2 separate regions of the Homo sapiens genome follow, and region 1 is linked to region 2. The links are contacts of gene promoters, found by promoter capture Hi-C in blood cells and fetal thymus (Javierre and others, 2016). All regions are on one chromosome and are shown on one strand. Each heading gives the region's core, a stretch centred on a gene start or on the middle of the fragment in contact. The rest is flanking DNA. Distances are from core to core; before and after follow the strand shown. Region 1 overlaps ARHGEF38 (Rho guanine nucleotide exchange factor 38). Region 2 holds the start of TET2 (tet methylcytosine dioxygenase 2).

Region 1 (4,931 bases), core at 183-2,682, 530 kb before region 2:
CATTATTGATTTCTCATATCAATGGATTTTCCTAATTGATTTATCATACTTCATATTATATCTTTACCTTTTTTATCACCTCATTTCAATTATTTAAGGGTATATCTTTTTCCAATAAATTGTGAACTCTCCTGGTGCTTAATACAATATTTTTTCTCACATTGCTCACTTTTCCTACATTGCCAATGTAATACATGCACATAGTACGTAATAAATGTTGAATTTTGATTCATCTTGGTTATGCACATTCCTGATAAGTTTTGAAGAAAAATACCATTTCACAAAGGTCTTTGCAGATGGAAATATATGACTTGTTCACACACTGATGGCTTCTTCCTATACCATGAAAGAAAAGGCTATCTTACTTAGTGCTCAAAATGTTATAGCACTTTACCTAATTTTAGCTAACTTTGTATACAATAAGCTCCTATATAATGATTAATTCTTGAGATTGTTTTGTACATTGTTAACCCATTTATGCCAGAGGTTGCAAATTTTTTTGGTGAAAAATCAGACCTGATGATGACCTTGAACAGTAGGATATAAATAACTCTATAAGCCGAGCATTGCAATAATGGAACACTAGGCATAAGTGGGTTAAGTCAGAAAATGTGGAAGGTCTGCGTTGTTGTCTTACTTGCAAGCTAACAAATTAACCAGCAATTGTTGTACATGTATATTCTGAGAGAAGATAGGAAGCCCTCTGCATCAGAGAAACAGTTTATTATTCACAGCAAAAAAACTGGATATCCAACAAATTCACACATTCACAAGACTATGAACAGCCTGTTCCATCAAACTTGATTTGTGCTACTAAATCTTCACTCTACAAATCTCTAATCTCAAACTGTCTTCCTTAATCCCTAGGTTTTTCTAACATCATTATTCTAAAGTATATTGATAGGTGATCTCTGTAAACACAAAGCTTTTAAAATTAAGCTTGGTCTTTTTTTTTTTAAGGAAAGATTATTATTTTAAACTGCTCTGTTAAATAATGGTGCTAAATTATTTGTAGTAAATTAGAATCCAGGATTGAGATAATCCATTATCTCAATTATGATCTCAATAGGCAGTAAATGTCTGTTTACCCTATATGTAAATAATGAATTATCTCAATCCTACAGAGACTTTTGCTTTGAGAAACAGATTTATTTTGATAAAACATCAATTTGACATAAACCCCAATTTCCCTTTGGGGTCAAAGAAACCAAAAAATACATATCCATAATTGTTTATAGTTCAAAACCAGTTTGGACTAAACAAAATTACCTGACATAAAAACTCAGCTCCGCAACTATAACAGTTAATGTAACCTCCATACCTACAAAAAATGAAAGCAGTAATGTTTATTACAGTTCACACATTGGCACTTGAAATGAAAACATTTATCCCATCATGGAAAATACGTGCTACATAGAGTTGAGAAGAGAAGCAATTATTTTAATTTCTGTTGTACCTCAGAGGGGACTTTAGTTTAGGAGGTAATTTATCTTTCACTGAGTATGGCTCTTTGTATAGATAATGTGTGCACACGTATATTTAGGTTATGTACATATGTATAAGTACACATATACCGTATTTAGCTCAGTTTGGTATTTTATAGAGGTATATTTGGTATTAGAGTTTAAATTGTCTCAAGGAGCTTTTAGACCTTGATTTTTTTCATGTCATAAAATGAGCTACAAGACCCTTTAACTGAGCAGTAATGAAAGTAGCCAGTTTTATATAAATAGCATTTATTATTTTATGATCATTTTATTTAGTTTGTTATGTGCAGATGTTTTCCCCACTAGAATTTAAGTGGTATGAATGGAGGGATCTTGTTTGTCTTGCACAGCATTGTATTCCCACTAACTCTCAATAAATACTTACTGGTTCAATGAATGAATGGACAGATAAGCAAGTGTGCTAACAAGTAAGCTTTTAGGATTGTACATTTTAATCCCATTAGTAGATATGTGGTGACTATCATTTTTCTATTTTGCATATGCTTTATGTAAGATTATATAACTACAGATTTTAGTGACTTAAGGAAAAGAAAAGGGAAAACACTAAAAGAAAGGCCTTAAAGTCAGAAGACCTGGTTTTAAATTCCAGTCCCTCCATGTGAGGTCCTCAATTTCCTCCTTTATAAAACACAGATGAAAATGAGATGTCCTTCAAGTCTACAGTGGATCTGAAGGGAGGGCTATTATTTTCTGTGAGACGAAGAAGAATGTAACTGACATGGCCATGAATCCGCACAAAACAGAATGCACTGTGTTTACATGGGGACATTGCACAGTCACAAAGAGAAATTACACTAAAAGGCTTCAGAGAGGTAATTATAAAGTTTTGGTGGCAACCAATGTGGCTCCTCGTGGTTTGGACATTCCTGTAGTTGACCTGGTGATTCAAAGTTCTCCTCCTCAGGATATTGAGTCCTATATCCATCTCTCTGGATGCGTGGGTAAAGCTGGACAGACAGGGGTTTGTATATGTTTTTATCAACCAAGAGAAAGGTCAACTAAGACATGTGGAACAAAAAACACAAATTACTTTTAAATGTGTAGGTGTTCCTTCTACAATGGATTTAGTTAAATTTAAAAGCATGGATGCCATAAGGTCTCTGGCTTCCATTTCTTATGCTGCTGTTGATTTTTTTCCAACCATCAGCTCAGATACTGATAGAAGAGAAAGGGGCGATAGATGCATTGGCTGCAGCTTTAGCCCACATTTCTGGTGTATCAAGCTTTGAACCATGATCTTTAATCAACTCTGATAAGGGGTTTGTGACCATGACTCTGGAAAGCCTAGAGGAAATACAGGATGTCAGCTGTGCTTGGAAAGAACTTAGAAAGCTGAATAGTAATGCAGTGTCTCAGATTACCAGAGTGTGCCTCCTGAAAGGAAATATGGGTGTTTGCTTTGATATTCCTCCAATTGAGTCAAAGGTTACAGGCAAAGTGGCATGATTCCGGCTGGATACTCTCAGTGCCAGCTAAATTACCTGAAATTAAAGAATATTATGATGGAAACATCTTTTAATTCCAGACAGAGGAGTGGCTGGTCAGGCCAGTCAGGTTGTCGATCTGGCAATTGGTCAGGTAGAGAGAGTCGACAAAGCAGTTGCTCAGGAAAGTCGGCAAGATGGTAGAAGACGAAGTGGAACAGAAATAGATCAAGAAGTGGGGGCCACAAATGGAGTTTTGACTGAGTATTTGATAGTTAATTTAGCAGTGTGAGCTTGCCTATTTCTACCTAATCTTACATTATGGATCAAAAATTAGGTCATCATTGTTGAGGTATGTGTCTACTATTTGCAAAGAAGTTGATCGTATTTTTTTAAAAAAGTATTTCACAAGAATGATTGTAAACAAATCTACTTATCCAGTTATACCTTTGAATAAAAAAACCTCCTTTTATTGTCTCTTTAAAAAAAAAAAAAAACAACAAGAAAAGAAAGAAAAAAGCCCTGGCTGAAGGGGAAGTCTATTTAGATGGTTGGAAGCCTTAGAATTTTATTTTTGGTTTACACTACCTAGGTTTAAGTCCAGGCCCACCACTTAATAGCAATGTGATTTGGATTAAATTACTTCACCTTTTTGGGCCATGGTTTCTTCATAATGTTTTGAATATTAAACAAGTTACTACATATAAAGCACTTAGAACAATGTCTGGCATATAGTGTGCATTCAGTAATGTTACATGTTAATATCAAGTTATTCAGTTTTAGTTCAAAACATATAAACGAAACATTAACAAAATATATTATCAAAGACTTCTAGTTGGTGGTATATTCTTCTTATGTATATTTGGTGTATACTCTGATTTATACATATAGGTGTATAATTCATATTATCCACATACGTGTATAAAGCTACATAATATATATGGTTTATATGTATGTATATAAACATGTATGCATTTGCAAGAGAGCAATATGAAAAACAAAAACATTTAAGGCAAAATACATCATACAGTAAAAAAAAAAGTAAATTGAAAAACCTTTGGATCCAACCTTTCTTGATGATAAAAGAATATAATTACTCCTTCAAAAGATCTTCACTTTTAAATAGTTGATAGTTGAAGCTTGGGTCATTTGCTTTGCTATTTCTGTTGGCTTAGTATTTCTTTCAACATGTATCCTTTATAATACATTCATGCAATAATCCTGTTAGGAAGTACAGTATTCCTGAAAACCCAGTACAGTATCAGTTTCTGTAGTTCAGAGGTTTCTTGCTTTCTGGTCCAAAGTTTTGTAATGTCAGTTTTATGAGGTAGTCAATCAACAACTTGCTGGAAAATAAAAGTTGAAGGCTTATTTTCTTAAGCATAAGTCATCTTTCCAAGGTAGTTAGCTGGCACGTATCCTTTCTGCCCTTGAGCTTCAGCTAACCACCACTCTTTATTGCCACTTAGGTCACAAAACCTGAGTATATGAACTCTCTGGTATTCCTGAAGGCTGAGTTCATGGTCACTCCGTGCTTGAAAAGCATGAACTGCATAGAAAATCTAGACAAAGAAACAAAAGACATTATTGGAATTGGAACCTGAATATTAAGAGAAACATCATAAAAGTTTCCAAGCTTTTAGAAGCAATGCTAAAGTTTTTTTGTTTTGCCAAAGTCACATTGTCCAACTCCTTCTATTGGATGTATTTTGCTAAAATATAACCCAGGTGAGAATGGAGTGAAATAGGTATTCCTATTATTCTGTTAGGAGGAATATAAATTGTCCATGCTTGAAGGCAACTTGGCAGTTTCTATTAAAAGATTTTTAATAATGTTAAAATGTTAATTCCTTGTGAATCAAAATAGCTTGAAGAATCTCTTCTACAGAAACATCGGCAGAAATTTTTGCATAACAATGTTACTGGATTACCCATAAGAATGGCGAAAAGTGGGAGAGTAGTAGGAATAACACTATAAGTTTAGCAAGAGAAAAATAGT
Region 2 (5,640 bases), core at 2,474-4,973:
GGCTTGGGAGATATTCTATTGCTGCTGGCTTTGGTACCATTACTATCCTTAAGAACTACTGTGCAATGGTAGAATAATCATTGACAAAGTGTTATTCTGATGAACAAATACTGACAGCTGGTCCAAAGTTTTAGCCTGTTCCCAAGGTAGGAAACAATAACATTAAAACAGTCTACATGGTTATTTATATAACAAAGATGACTCTTTCCAGCGATTTGAAATTGCTAGATAAGACTATGAAATTCTATTAAAACAATAACAACAAAAACAATTTAACTTGCATTAGAAGCAATTAAAGCATAAAAAGTAGATCTAAGATTTTCTAAATATTAGATATTCTAAAATATTGACATTATACAATGTCTAGCATCCGTAACTTTTGAAGATATTTTATTTCAAGGTAATTTCATAAGAATTCATAAGAATTTACCTACTCAGACTTTGGGCAGGATGGAAAATAGAGTTTCTGTGAGGTGTGCCTATGAATCATAAGAAGGGCTTCTTAATGAGGTCAGTAATTAAGGAAATACATTTCAATAGTGACATTTGACTTACAACATTGTTTGGGGGTGGAGTCTTAGAAGAATTGATAGGGAACTTTTAACTTCAACAAGTGAAACTAAAACATTAACTCCAGTTGTTGTTACCTAATACAAGACCAGTGCCCAATAAGGACTTTGGAATTCTTTCATAACAACTCCTTGGCAGGTGCACTTCACTTGTTCTGGAAGTGATATTCACTTGCCAATGTCTAGTAGGACCATGTGCCACTGCCTCAAAATCATATCAATTCCTCCGGCTTCTGGCATAAACTGGCACATCAGACCTAATTAAAGCCTTAAGAAGAGTTTGGCAAATATGACAATTTAAACAAAGCAAGGGATTTCTCTCACTGCAACTTAATTTCTCATTGATGATTAGTTCAATAAGAAAATAAGCAAAACAATGTCATAGTTAAGAAAAGCTATCTATCTTGTTATTGTCCATTATCATGTTCCTAAAATTCAATAACCCAAGACAGTCCTATGGAATTTTTGGAGCACCTAGGTAGTATGATCACATATATGGTAAAGAAAGAACTGAGGTTATGTCTTTTATTGTAAACTACCCCATACTTATTAAAATAATTTCTCTTTTCCAACAAAGGATAAAGTGACTAACATACACATCTCTTCCTTATAATCACTGAAATACTTTATACAGTATTAATTAGCAGCTATTTTCAGTATAAAAGTAGGATGCACAAAATAACAAGAATCTAAATTTGATGACAGGAAAAAACAAGCCTTCATAGTTGTATTCAAAATTATTAACCAATGTAGTTATTCTTATTTATTGAGTGGAAAATGTTGTATCTATTATTAGTTGAGTAGCCTGAAGACAGTATATACCACAACATTTGAAAAGTTGTCCCCAAAAAGTAAATATTAGTTTGTTAGCAAAAGGAATTGTTTTTAATTCTGAATTGCTGGAATAATTAACCATAGTTTTCTCGATAGTTTACCATGAACAGCATTAATGGTAAAATCCTAATTTTTGTTTTAATTTTAGGGCAAATAAGAACTAACCAATGAACCGTTTCTATTCCACAGAGATGAGTAATGCTTCTCCCTTGTAATCATGTGAAAGAACCCCACGTATCAATGATTAAAGCAAACTACATTAAATTAACAAAGATCAAAATAGAAAGTTACAAAGTGAACTATCGAGGACAAATAGTTTTGGAAATTCGACTTATGGAGAAATATCTATTATTGTGTTTTTCCTTCTATCCATTTTTTAATCCTATAAATTGTCTTCTAAACTTCAGTTTGATTATCCAACACTTCATTAACCGTTCTCTGCTTATTAACATTTAAAAAAATCAATATTTATTGTGTTTAAATTTATATTCTATTCCAAACATTATTAAGCACACATACAAACATGTAAAAGAACATAACTCCCCTTAGTATTTCAACTTTCCATTAAAATGCAAATGTAATGATTTCATTAGCCAGGCAACAATACCCACAGTATCACACCAAACCAAACCAATGTCTTTTCTCTGTGAATCCCAACTTCCCTTAAGATACAATCTTATTCCTATGATGGATCATTTGTTGATGAATATCTTTGAATTTGGGTTTCCCATTATAATCCCTGACTGAAGGGGAAAAAGCACAATGTGTGATTTGAGATATTAAATTCATGAATGTATTCCACTCCCTAGACACGTAAATATATAAATATTTCACTAAATTTTATGCACTAAATTTTACCGCTGGAAAATAAGCCTTTTCTCAATTCTTAAACATTAGATGAAGAAGGGAGAACTCCCTCAATGTAATTAAAAGTATATCATGAGGGGAATAACCAGCAAATAACACTTATATTTCATTTTCGGCCTTTCCAGGAGTCTATCCAGGCCACACTTCATTATGTCATAGGTAGAAAACTCTCCATACAAACCCTATTAGCTTAATAAAACTAGACAAGCAGTCCCAGTGAAAAGATTCAGCAAGATGCGAGTGAGGTGTGTGTGTGTGTGTGTGTGTGTATGTGTATGAGAGAGAGAGAAGAAAGAGTAGAGAGGAGACACAGAGAGAAAGGCAGAGAGATGAAAGACCAAAGAGAGAAGCCAAAGAGAAATTTGGATGGGACTGTTATAAATCTGCTCTTCACTTCTTTGCTGGGATTGGGTTTCATTTCTTTAGGCGCCCCTGACCTTGCAGTCTTGCAACTCCAACGCTGCGCTCCCCACCCCCTCCCGCCCCCTCCCCGGGCCTGCGCCTGCCTTTGTGTCTGCCTGTCACTTACCAAGGAACCAAACGAAGCTGATTCGGGAGAAGCACAAAGCCGGGACACAGATTTGTCCATAAATTCTCTTACATACATTCCCCAGGCTGGAAGGCTCAGCCCAGCGCTGACTTATGTACCTTGAGAAAAGTGAGTTCTGGTCTTGTTTGGGGAACCAGAGAAACTATTCTTTCCTCTTTCACTCAGCGCCGCTAACAAAACGCGCGGACTTAAGGAAAAAAAAAACCCACTCAGTGTACTCCAATTCCACTCCCTGTGACATTCACTTCGTACAGCCCCCTAAAGGGGGATAAGAAGGTAGGAGGAGGCAGACACAAACCCAGACCCAGACCCTACAGCTGATAAAAGGGTCGAAAAACACCCTATCAGTGTTCTCTCTGAGGTTGTTCAGGATAAACGGGAGACTCGTTTCACTTACACGAAAGAAACAGGGGAAGAGGATTAAAGGGAAAAGTAGTGCCCCCAAAGCTGAACTATTTTAGAAAGGAAAGCAAATTTAAAAATCACTTTTCTGAGGATTAAAAAAGGCCGGGAAACCGGCTCGTCGGAGGCACAAAGGTAAGTTTTCTGGGAGATGAGGGGACGAGCATTAGGAGGAGAGAAGAGAACACAGAACTACAGGTTTAAAAGGGGTAGAGGGAATTAAAACTATATTTGTCAGCCATGTTGAAGAGGCTCCAGTAATTTGTGAAGCTTCCCTCTTCCCTCTTGGTATTTGTGGGTGACACTACAGGGTTTGCTCCCCAGTCCCTGGAAGCCCGAGAAAAAGCGAAGGGGAGAAGAAAGGGAGAGTTTCGCGGCATAAGAGAAGCGCTCTGACCTCGTTCTCGTCCCTCAGCCTTGCAGCAATCCAGCAGTTGCAGTCGGGTCTCCTTTCTAACAAATCCTAAAGGGCAGCCATCTTGCTTCCTTCTGCTTCTCTACGAAAGCAGCCTAGCCTCCGCATCAATATTCATAAGGCAGTTTGACGTCTGTTCTCATCACTCAGCGGGGCCGGCGTCTCGGGGCGGCCGCGCCGAGGGGGCGGACGTGACTTGCATGCGAGCGGGACCCGGGCGCGCGGCGCTCGCGAGGAGGCGGCGGCGGCCGCCCAAGCTCTCGCCGCTGCCACTGCCGCTACCGCCGGCTCTCCTCCTCCGCCCGGGCCTCCTCCTGCTCCGCCCCGGCCTCCTCCCGCTCCGCCCCGGCCTGCGCCGCCGCCCTGGGGCCCTCAGCCCCGGCTCCCAGGGAATTAGCCCCCCGCACCGGGCGTCCAGCACAAAGGCCGGCGGCACCTGGGGCCGTACAGCGGGGCGCGCAGTGGAGACCTGGGCTGCCCTCACGCCGTGCAGTGGCGCGGGGGGAGTGGTGCGCCCGGACCAGCGCGGAGTAGGGGCCAGGGCTGGCGAGCGCGGGGAAGGGTGCAGCCCTCGGGAACCCCGGGGACCTCGGCGGGTCTCCACCCCTGGGAGAAGAAGCAGAGCAAGCGCGAAGGTTGGGGGCGAGGTGGGAGGTTGGGATGGCACGGGTGCCTGGACAAAGACGTGACATCTAAGATTTCCCTTTGAAACTTTTTGCTGGTCTGCACTCCACCACCACTTCGAGGTCCCGCGCACACGCCCCCGCGCGCACCCACCTCCTCCGGAGTGTACCCGCACGTGCCCTCGCTCTGGCCCCCGCCTCCACCCACTGGCACCTCTCCCCGCACCACACCTCCGCTTGCGCCCACCTTACCCTCAGAGGCCCGCGTCTCTATCTCCCTTTAGATCCCGTTGCCCGCGCTCTCCTTTCCCTTTTCTGTCGCTTTAATCTCATTCAGCAGAAGCGCTCCCCTGTTTCACCGAGGGCATGCCCTTAGTGCTTTAGGGGCCTGTATTTTTAAAGACCCGACAAACTGGGAAATTGACCGAGTTCTGTTTCTCCCCGCCCCGGCCCACCTTCTGTTTACTTTAGCCACGTGGGCTGAGTAGAAGGGGGCGTCTCACAGATTGAAATAGGTTTCTCACTAGTGACCCCCTACTTCTCGCTAGGAGGAAATAAACCTGCACTTTCAAATGCTTAAGTTGCCTCTCGTAAGAGCCCTTACTTTGAAGTAGTTTCCCCCCGTACAATTAAGTAATGAAGAAACCGACCGATACAGAGCTAATTCCGAATGACGGATGCTTGATTTTCCCTGACATTCGGAGCTCTGTAACTATGCTCTTCCTTTGACCGGAGTTTTTCTCTATTGCCGAGTAGTGTTACTTCCCCCTTCTAATGCTCCTTTTTCTAATCATCAACTTTTTATTTGAAGATGAGATGAAGAACAAAGCCCATATGAGTCATAGTAAGTATCATATTACGTCAGATAGTCGTTTTTGAAATATTCCCTTCATCTTTTACATGTTCTTACATGACTGACGTTCAAATTTTAAGTGGGTATTTTGGTCACATCTTTTATGGGATCACTGCATGGTGATCACAGTACCCTTAAGTCAATACTAGTTATATTGTGTAACCACACTTTTTTTGGTCTGTAATTTTTTTTAAAAGCGAAGCCCTAATTTTACGAAATCGGAATATTTCCTCTTTGAAGAGTGTGAAAAAGGGAACTCCTTGCAAGTGTCGCATTGTTGCTAAGAAGAATGTTTAGTGGGTCCAATCAAACTTTGTTTATTCCATTTTGAAACAAAGTTGACTCAGATTTCAGATTTTGCACAAACTAAGGAAATAGTACATTTTCCCTTAAACATTTCAGGTGGGAATGACATTCCATGTTTTCTAGCTGTACACTAAAGCGTCACTTAGGTCTTGGAAATTGTTAATGCACTTTAAAATCTAAGCTGTTTGAAAGTTCTTTGTGATCTTTATTTCTTTCTTTCT

What was found. The method cuts DNA at HindIII sites, captures the fragments that hold promoters and counts their contacts. A CHiCAGO score of 5 or more calls a contact.
Region 1: a fragment that was not itself captured here is called in contact with the fragment with the promoter of TET2 in region 2 in 6 of 17 cell types (naive B cells, activated CD4 T cells, total B cells and 3 more); the score reaches 7.5 in naive B cells.

Annotation. Positions count from the first base shown.
Region 1 is chr4:105,677,315-105,682,245 of GRCh38, reverse strand. ARHGEF38 (Rho guanine nucleotide exchange factor 38) reads right to left here. Exons shown (of 14, transcript NM_001242729.2): 14 at 1,332-4,494. The coding sequence ends at 4,309. Among named protein-coding and RNA genes, the nearest start is that of INTS12, 29 kb to the left of the region's middle. The HindIII fragment of the contact is 981 bases long and covers 942-1,922 here.
Region 2 is chr4:105,144,959-105,150,598 of GRCh38, reverse strand. TET2 (tet methylcytosine dioxygenase 2) reads right to left here and starts at 3,723. Exons shown (of 11, transcript NM_001127208.3): 1 at 3,620-3,723. LOC124900868 reads left to right here. Exons shown (of 3, transcript XM_047416559.1): 2 at 3,638-5,104. The coding sequence ends at 4,326. RefSeq lists silencers at 2,749-2,818, 3,782-4,461 and enhancers at 3,149-3,198, 3,542-3,711. The HindIII fragment of the contact is 4,110 bases long and covers 3,495-5,640 here.